Linked DNA regions of Homo sapiens: region 2 is linked to region 1. Evidence: promoter capture Hi-C in human tissues and cell types (Jung and others, 2019). All regions are on one chromosome and are shown on one strand. The core of a region is centred on a gene start or on the middle of the fragment in contact, and the rest is flanking DNA. Distances in the headings are between cores, read along the strand shown.

Evidence for each region. Contacts are between HindIII fragments. The study calls those that stand out against the background at their distance.
Region 2: a fragment that was not itself captured here is called in contact with the fragment with the promoter of SECTM1 in region 1 in 2 of the 25 tissues and cell types used here (liver and lymphoblastoid cells).

The regions. Positions count from the first base shown.
Region 1 is chr17:82,331,676-82,335,735 of GRCh38, forward strand. SECTM1 (secreted and transmembrane 1) reads right to left here and starts at 2,091. Exons shown (of 5, transcript NM_003004.3): 1 at 2,025-2,091. RefSeq lists a silencer at 434-718 and enhancers at 595-1,397, 3,445-3,514. The HindIII fragment of the contact is 16,320 bases long and covers 1-3,742 here.
Region 2 is chr17:82,133,213-82,137,272 of GRCh38, forward strand. CCDC57 (coiled-coil domain containing 57) reads right to left here. Exons shown (of 19, transcript NM_001394669.1): 16 at 861-982. Among named protein-coding and RNA genes, the nearest start is that of FASN, 37 kb to the left of the region's middle. The HindIII fragment of the contact is 3,997 bases long and covers 297-4,060 here.

The DNA.
Region 1 (4,060 bases), core at 841-3,340:
GTTGAATGCCACGCAGTGGCTAAAAATCAGAGAGAGGGCAGGCGGCAGGGCGCGGCCCCAGGGAAAGTGGCCAGGTGGGCGGTGACTGGCCGGGCAGCTCCGTGTGTGGCACAGGGAGACCTGGCACAGGGAGACCAGGTACAGGGAGACGAGGCGCACGGAGCCTCAAAACTTCTAGAGTGGGCCGGGCGCGGTGGCGCATGCCTGCAATCCCAGCACTTTGGGAGGCTGAGGCAGGTGGATCACCTGAGGTCGGGAGTTTGAGACCAGTCTGAACAACGTGGTGAAACCCCGTCTCTACTAAAAATACAAAAAAATTAGCCGGGCGTGGTGGTGCACGCCTGTAATCCCAGTTACTTGGGAGGCTGAGGCAGGAGAATCGCTTGAACCAGGGAGGTGGAGGTTGTGGTGAGCCAAGATCTGGCCACTACATTCCAGCCTGGGCAACAAGAGCGAAACTCCGTCTCAAACCAAACAAAACAAAAAACAAACTTCTAGAGCGGGAAAAGATGGAGGCGGCAATCAGATTTCTCTCAAACCACGAACACAGGGGTCGGTATCTGAGGCGCCGGCACCAGACACGGCAGGGTCTGAGTGCTCCCTGACAAGCGATGATGCGCAGGCTTGGAGCCATGCCAGTGACACGCCTAGGAAAGTTCACGCACCGCCCAGCACGCCTGCGCATGCCTGTTCCCGCTCCCTGGTGCCCCGGGCGCCTGCCTGTCCCGGCTCCCATGGGTGCTGGGTGTGTGGAAGCTCCGGCCCCCTCGGGCTGGGTTCATTGGGGTCCTCCTGTGTGGTCAGTGGACTCTGTACCCCCACAGCACCTGAGGGGTGGCTGACACTGCTTTCCCAGCTGCTGCAGGGGCTCAGGGAACACAGGTGACCCCACGTCTCTACCGAGAATGAGCACACCAACACCTCTCAGAAGACAGCTGCAGCCTGCAGAGGCCATGGACCCCACCCAGGCCCACGGTGTGGACGGCTCTGCCCTGGTCTCTGCTGAGCCAGGCCCAGAGGGGACCCCAGGTGAGCAGCAAAGCCCCCCAGGCCTGGGGCTAGACCGGGCTAACCCTTCCTGCTCAGCACCTGTTCACCTGTCCCCTCTGCTGGTGGCCTCCTGTCCTCCCGCTCTGGGCTCAGCAGCAGCCCCGTGGAGAGGCCCTGCCACCACCCCCGCCCTGCTGGAGACAGGCCTCCTACGCGGGCTCCTGCAGCCGGTCGCCCTGGGCCTCCTAGAAGCCGGGGATCCTCTGCTGACCACCGGCAGAAAACGTGCTTCTCAAGCTGCAGGTGATTCACCAGTAGTGGGCAAGGAACTGAATGTGGTGATTACTGCGGAGTCAGCAAAACCCGCGTGAGAACGGGCAGCTGAGGGCCTGCCGGGTGAGGGAAGCCTCACGGTTCCTGTTTCATGAGTTTGCTGTGAGTGCACACGAGGCTGTGGCTGTGGAGTGTGCAACAGTCCACGCGTGCCTGCGTGTGCTCATGTGCGTGTGTCCACCAGCTTGTGTGCACGCATATGAGCGAGTGCGTTTTGCTCCCAGCTTGGTCGCAGCGACGGCGCAGGGAACCCCGGGTGAGGCCGAGGACCGGGAAGGGAGGAGGGGGCTCCGACCCATCGGACTTAGGGGAGCCCCGGGTCCGAGACGCCGCCTCTGTCCCTTCAAGAGTCGAGCCTGGCGCACAGGGCAGGGACGCGGGTCCCCACACCGGCCGGCAGCTCGTTCCCGCCCATACTCGGGTACGCCCGCTGCGACCCCGCCCGCCTGGCCTGCGACGCACGCTCAGGGCCAGCGGGGGGTGACGGTCCCAGAGGCAGAGGCGCCGCAGCCCCAGAGTCCCCATCCCTGCGCGGACCGGCAACCCCAGTGCACCAAGAGGCCCTAACACCGAGCCCCCAGCACCGAGTCCCCAGCACCGGGCCCTCAGCACCGAGTCCCCAGCACCGAGTCCCCAGCACCGAGTCCCCAGCACCGAGCCCGCCCCTCTGGTTCCCCCGCCCGCCCCTCTCCGCGCCTCACCGGGTCCGCTCCTGGACGCGCTCCTCTGGGATGCAGCTTCTCCGCGCCCCGGAGCCCCAGGAAAATGAAAGACACGAGAGGGAGGGGCCAGGGAGGAGGCGGCGGACCCGCGCGGGACCCACCTCCCAGATGAGGAAGGAGCTGGGTTTACGGGAAGCCTCCAAGTTTCGGGAACCACCCGCGTTCACAACAAGCGTGACGGTGAATTTATTATTTTCACGGGAGGCACCGCACCCGCGGTTCACGCTAAAGGAAGCAGGAAAGCCGCCGGGAGCATTTTTCCAGGAGAGTTCGTGCCTGGGCGGGTCCAGCTCGCGTGCGGCGCGCGTTCCCCGCGGGGCTGTTTGGCTCCGCTCCTGGAGGCCTCGAGTCTGTGCACGGGGCGAGCTGGGCGGGCCGAGTGGGCCGCGGGGAGGGAGGGCGGGGGGCGGCCCCCAGATGCCTGGGAGTGCGCGGGCAGAGTGAGCTGGACCCCCGGAGGGTCAGAGGCCCTTTCATAAAAGCGCGCAGAGCAGAGGAGTGATGTCCCCCAGCTCCCCCGCAGAGGGTCCTGCACCTGCGGCCTGGGCCTTCAGGCGTCCTGCGGCCCCTGCGGAGGTGCTGGCCTGGCCAGCCCGGGAGGAGGGGCCCAGCCTGTTGGGGCAGGAGATTGGGGTGCGGGTAGAAGGCTCCAAGACGCATCCGGGCCGGGAACCCACAGACATCCCAGGTGGGCAGGAGGTGGCTCGAGGAGGCCTGGAGGACCCGGCGCCTGGCGGGGTGGCAGGCGGGCCACGTCCTCCACTAGAACCCGAGGGGGCACGCGGGCAGGTGCGGGCGGGGTCAAGGATGACCAGGTATCTTCGGGACACTAGGAGGAGGCCCCACAGGCTGCAGTCACGTGAGTGGGCAAGTCCCCACCGGGCAGATGATGGGGGACACTGGGGCGTGGGCAATGCCCCCAGTTTCATGGAAGAGAGGAAGAAGCAGAACCAAACTCCGGGAAACCCTCAAATGTGGGGAATGGACGGAGCAGGGCCAGACTGGACGCTGAACCTTGGAGCCTGCAGCTCAGCCATCAGACCCAGGGTCCAGAGGTGGGTGGCACAGAACAAAGTCCCCCGGGATGTTCCAAAAGAGAAACTGTCGCCAAATTGGCAGGTGAAACACAGCCTGTCATCCTCCCAGCAAGACGGCACCATGGCCGGGGCACAGAGGTCAGATTCCCCAGCCCCCGCCCTCGGGGAAACCCCAGCCACCCTGGCTGCCAGTGAGATGCTGGAGAGGGGGCTGAAATCCCACCTGCCCACGTCCTCTGCACAGAGGGGCTTGTCCCCGAGGCCACATCCCCCAGCAGCCACAGCTTCCTTCTCCTTTTTTCCTGCCTACTAGATCTCTCAACTCAGAGGGGGCTGCAGTTCCTGGGGGCAGGGGGGTCCGGCTGCTTAGGCAGGAGCACCTGCACCGTGAGGCTCTGGAGGGCAGCTGAAGGCTGGCAGGCTTTTGTCCCGTGAGGGGACACCACTGGGGGTTGGAGGAAAACGCATATCCTGATAAAGCATTTCATGTTGTGAAAGTGAAACTAGTTTGTTTATTTTGGAAGTAATACAGGCACAGAAACAAAATAGAATGAAACCAACTGTTGCCTTTTCCTCCCCACCCTGGCTTCAATTCCCAGGTTGAGTTATGGACACTGCCTTACCTATCCTTCTAGAAGTTTTCCTGGTCCATACAAACAGCACAGCCATCCACTCACGTTTATTTCTTTCTTTTTTTTGAGACGGAGTCTCTGTTGCCCAGGCTGGAGTGCAGTGCTGCAGTCTCGATCACTGCAACCTCTGCCTCCCAGGTTCAACTGATTCTCCCACCTCAGCCTTCTGAGTAGTTGGGATTGCAGGCATGTATCACCACGCCCAGCTAATTTTTGTAGTTTTAGTAGAAATAGGATTTCATCATGTTGGCCAAGCTGGTCTCGAACTCCTGACCTCAGGTGGTCCGCCTGCCTTGGCCTCCCAAAGTGCTGGGGTTACAGGTGTGAGCCACCACATCTGGGCAGT
Region 2 (4,060 bases), core at 1,045-3,544, 200 kb before region 1:
ATATAAAAATTAGCCATTAGGCATGGTGGTACACACCTGTGGTCCCAGCTACTTGGAAGGCTGAGGTGGGAGGATCACTTGAGCCTAGGAAGCCGAGGCTGCAGTGAGCTGTGATTGCACCACTGCACTCCAGCCTGGGTGACAGAGCCAGGCCCTGTCTCAAAGGACAAAAAAAAAAGAAGTTTTTGGGTTCTGGGTGACAGAGCCAGGCCCTGTCTCAAAAAAAAAAAAAAAAAAAAAAAATAGAAGTTTTTGGTTTTTTTTTCACTTATCATACCAGATTAAAAAAATAGTACCCAGATATGTAAAGCTATAGTAAAACATATACATGATACAATTTGTAATGAAAAAATAAAAAAAAATGGGGGCTGGGCGCGGTGGTTCATGCCTGTAATCCCAGCACTTTGGGAGGCAGAGGCGGGTGGATCACCTGAGGTCAGGAGTTTGAAACCAGCCTGGCCAATATGGTAAAACCCCATCTCTACTAAAAATACAAAAATTAGTCAGGCGTGTTGGTGCATGCCTGTAATCCCAGCAACTCGGAAGGCTGACTCAGGAGAATTGCTTGAACCGGGAGGGGGAGGTTGTAGTGAGCCGAGATTGCACCACTGCACTCAAGCCTGGGCAACAGAGCAAGACTGTCTCAAAAAACAAACAAACAAATGAGAACCAAAACCAAACCAAAACAAAACAAAAACCCAGCAGAAAACACATTGAAATGTTACTAATAACTATATCTGGATCCTGAAAATTGGAGGCTTTTTATATTGTGTTTATTGTAATCTGAAGTTTCTGTAATGAAAACGACACAATTAGGGAAATATTTTTAAAAATGCATGTCTTAGATGAAGGGGTGTTACCTGAGATGTAAAATGGGGCTGCACCTGTCCCAAAGGTGGGCTGCGATCCAAAGGCCTCCTGGGCTCCTCGCCTGGCTTCCGGGCCTCAGGGGCAGGAGGGAGGGCGTGGTGCAACAGCCACCCTGGGAATGGGATGGGGACAGAGTTTGTTCTCTGTGCATCACTTCTGGATTCCTCTTGTGTTGAATGCAAACACTCAGAAAGAACAGCATGTTCCTTTTCAAAACCAAAGTAACTTCCATTACATCGAGAACTTGGGGAGGGCCGGACAACAGTGAACTGTGACACACAGCATTTCGGTAGAGCTCTTGCACACACAATGCCACGCCCCTGCCACACACAGCCCTTGCTGTCCTCACAGCGGGGGCAGCAAGCACATTCGCTAACAGAAGCACCCAGACGCCCTTTCTGTGGCAGGCACAAAGAAGAAGCAAAAACTTGCCAGGTGCGGAGGCTCACGTCTGTAATCCCAGCACTTTGGGAGGCTGAGGCAGGTTGCTCACTTGAGGCCAGGAGTTCGAGATCAGCCTGGCCAACATGGTGAAACTCCGTCTCTACTAAAAATACAAAAATTAGCTGGGCGTGGTGGTGGGCACCTGTAATCCCAGCTACTCGGGAGGCTGAGGCAGAAGAATTGCTTGAACCCGGGAGGCAGAGGTTGCAGCGAGCCGAGATCATGCCACTGCACTCCATCCTGGGTAACTCCATCTCAAAAAGCAAGCAAACAAACAAACAAAAGAAGCAAAAGCTTAAGTATAACAACTTAAAAATGATGGTTCTACTCAAAGCTTCGGCATGCTAGCTTACTTAGAAATGACCCCACATCAAACGAGATCCTTTCATCAATTCCATTCATGTTATGTTATGTAAAGATCTGCTCCTTCTCTAAGCAGACACATCAGAAGACATAATTACTGAAATAACATTTCCCAGGATTACAAATCAGTTTCGTTAAACTCACTGAGGATTCCAACAAGGTTTTTGGAGGGTGTTTATAACTGTTGACATTTCACATATTGGAAATTGAAACAGACATTTTTTTTTTTGAGATGGAGTTTCGCTCTTGTCCCCCAGGCTGGAGTGCAGTGGCGCGATCTCGACACCCCCAGAACATCCACCTCCTGGGTTCAAGCAATTCTCCTGCCTCAGCCTCCCAAGTAGCTGGGATTACAGGCATGCGCCACCACGCCCGGCTAATTTTGTATTTTTAGTAGAGACGGGGTTTCTCCATGTTGGTCAGGCTGGTCTCGAATTCCCGACCTCAGGTGATCTGCCCGCCTTGGCCTCCCAAAGTGCTGGGAATACAGGTGTGAGCCATGTGCCTGGTCAAAACAGAAAAATTTTAAAGCTTTTTTATCAATTAACTTGAAGTTAGCCATGATGAACATATTGCTTATGATCAACATCTGAGGAGCATCGCAGGATTAGCTCTGCCCTGTGGACATCCCGAGATGGGCCCTCAAGTAAAGCATCAGTTTCTTCTACGCAATAAAAGAACCCAAAGATGACACTTGGAAATGAACGTGTTTCCCTTGGTTTATAAACACCTGAATTTAAAAGCCATGAAGTCAGAAGATGCACGTGTGGGCAAAAACCTCCTGAAGACACTCAACACCATTGGTCACCAGGAGAATGTAAAATCAAGCCCACTATGGGATCCCGCCTCACACCCACTAGGTTGGCTGGGATCAACAGGATAGAAAACAGCTGGGTGCGGTGGCTCACACCTGTAACCCCAGCACACTGGGAGGCCGGGTGGGGGGGATCCTTGATGTCAGGTGTTGGATACTGGCGTGGGCAACACAGTGAGATCCCACCTCTATTTTTAAAAGAAATTTTTTTAAATATAAAAAAAATAAAGTTTTTAAAGATATGCAATAAAAGTATTCTTAATTAAAAAAAACCCCGACAGAAAATAGCAAGTGCTGGTGCAGATGTGGAGAAATCAGAACCTTCGTGCGCAGCTGGTGGGCATGGGAGGCGGTTTGGTGGCTCCTTACCAGGTTAGACACAGAATTCCCACATGACCCAGCAAGGCCACTTCTAGGGAGGCATCCAAGAGAACTGAATGTTCACAGCAATATTATTCACAATAGCCCAAAGGCGGAAACCATCCAAATGTCCATCAAACTGATGGACAAATGCCTACAGTGGCCTGTCCCCCAGCAAAGAGCTCTTCCCATGGAAAGGAATTAAGTGCAGACGCCCCAGCACGAGGGACCCTCAAACAGGACACAGAGGGAAAGAAGCCAGGCACAAAGGGACACATCCTGTGGGATCCTGCTGAAGTGAAACGTCCAGAACAGGCAAAGGCATGGAGGCAGAATGTGGGTGCTGGGCGGGGGACAGGAAGCAACTGCGAATGAGTGTGGGGTTTCCTCTGAAGTGAAAGGAATTCTGGAACAAATGATGATGCTCGCACAACATTCTTGACGTGCTTAATGCACTGAACTGTATACTTTGTATACTTCATGAGCTTTCAACAGTACATTTTATATGTATAGTACCAAAAAAAAAAAAAAAAAAAGAAAACTAGTTTTTTTGAGACAGAGTCTTGCTCTGTCACCCAGGCTGGAGTGCAGTGGTGCAATCGCGGCTCACTGCAGCCTCCACCTCCTGGGCTCAAGCGATCCTCCCACCTCAGCCTCCCAAGTAGCTGGGACCACACCCAGCCAAGTTTTTTGTTTTTTAGTAGAGACAGGGTGTCACTATTCTGCCCAGGTTAGTCTCAAACTCCTAGCCTCAAGTGATCCTCCTCCCTTGGCCTCCCAAAGGGCTGGGATTAGAGGCATGAGCCACTGCACCCAGCTGAAAGCTAGGTCTTGTTTTCTCAATCCTTACTTGGTTGAAAGAAAGCTAGTTTTTTAAAAAGCCATGAAATGTGTTAAAATCTTAGCAAAGTTAGCCCAATTTTGATGGGTTTGTTTCCTTGGTGTACTACTTTTTTTTTTTTTTTTTTGAGACAGAGTCTTGCTCTGTCATCCAGGCTGGATGGAGTGCAGTGGTGTGATGTTGGCTCACTGCAACCTCCACTTCCCAGGTTCAAGCAATTCTCCCGCCTCAGCCTCTTCAGTAGCTTGGATTACAGGCACCTGCCACCATGCCCGGCTAATTTTTGTATTTTTAGTAGACAAGGGGTTTCACCGTGTTGGCCAGGCTGGTCTTGAACTCCTGCAAGCATCCTATGATCCGCCCACCTC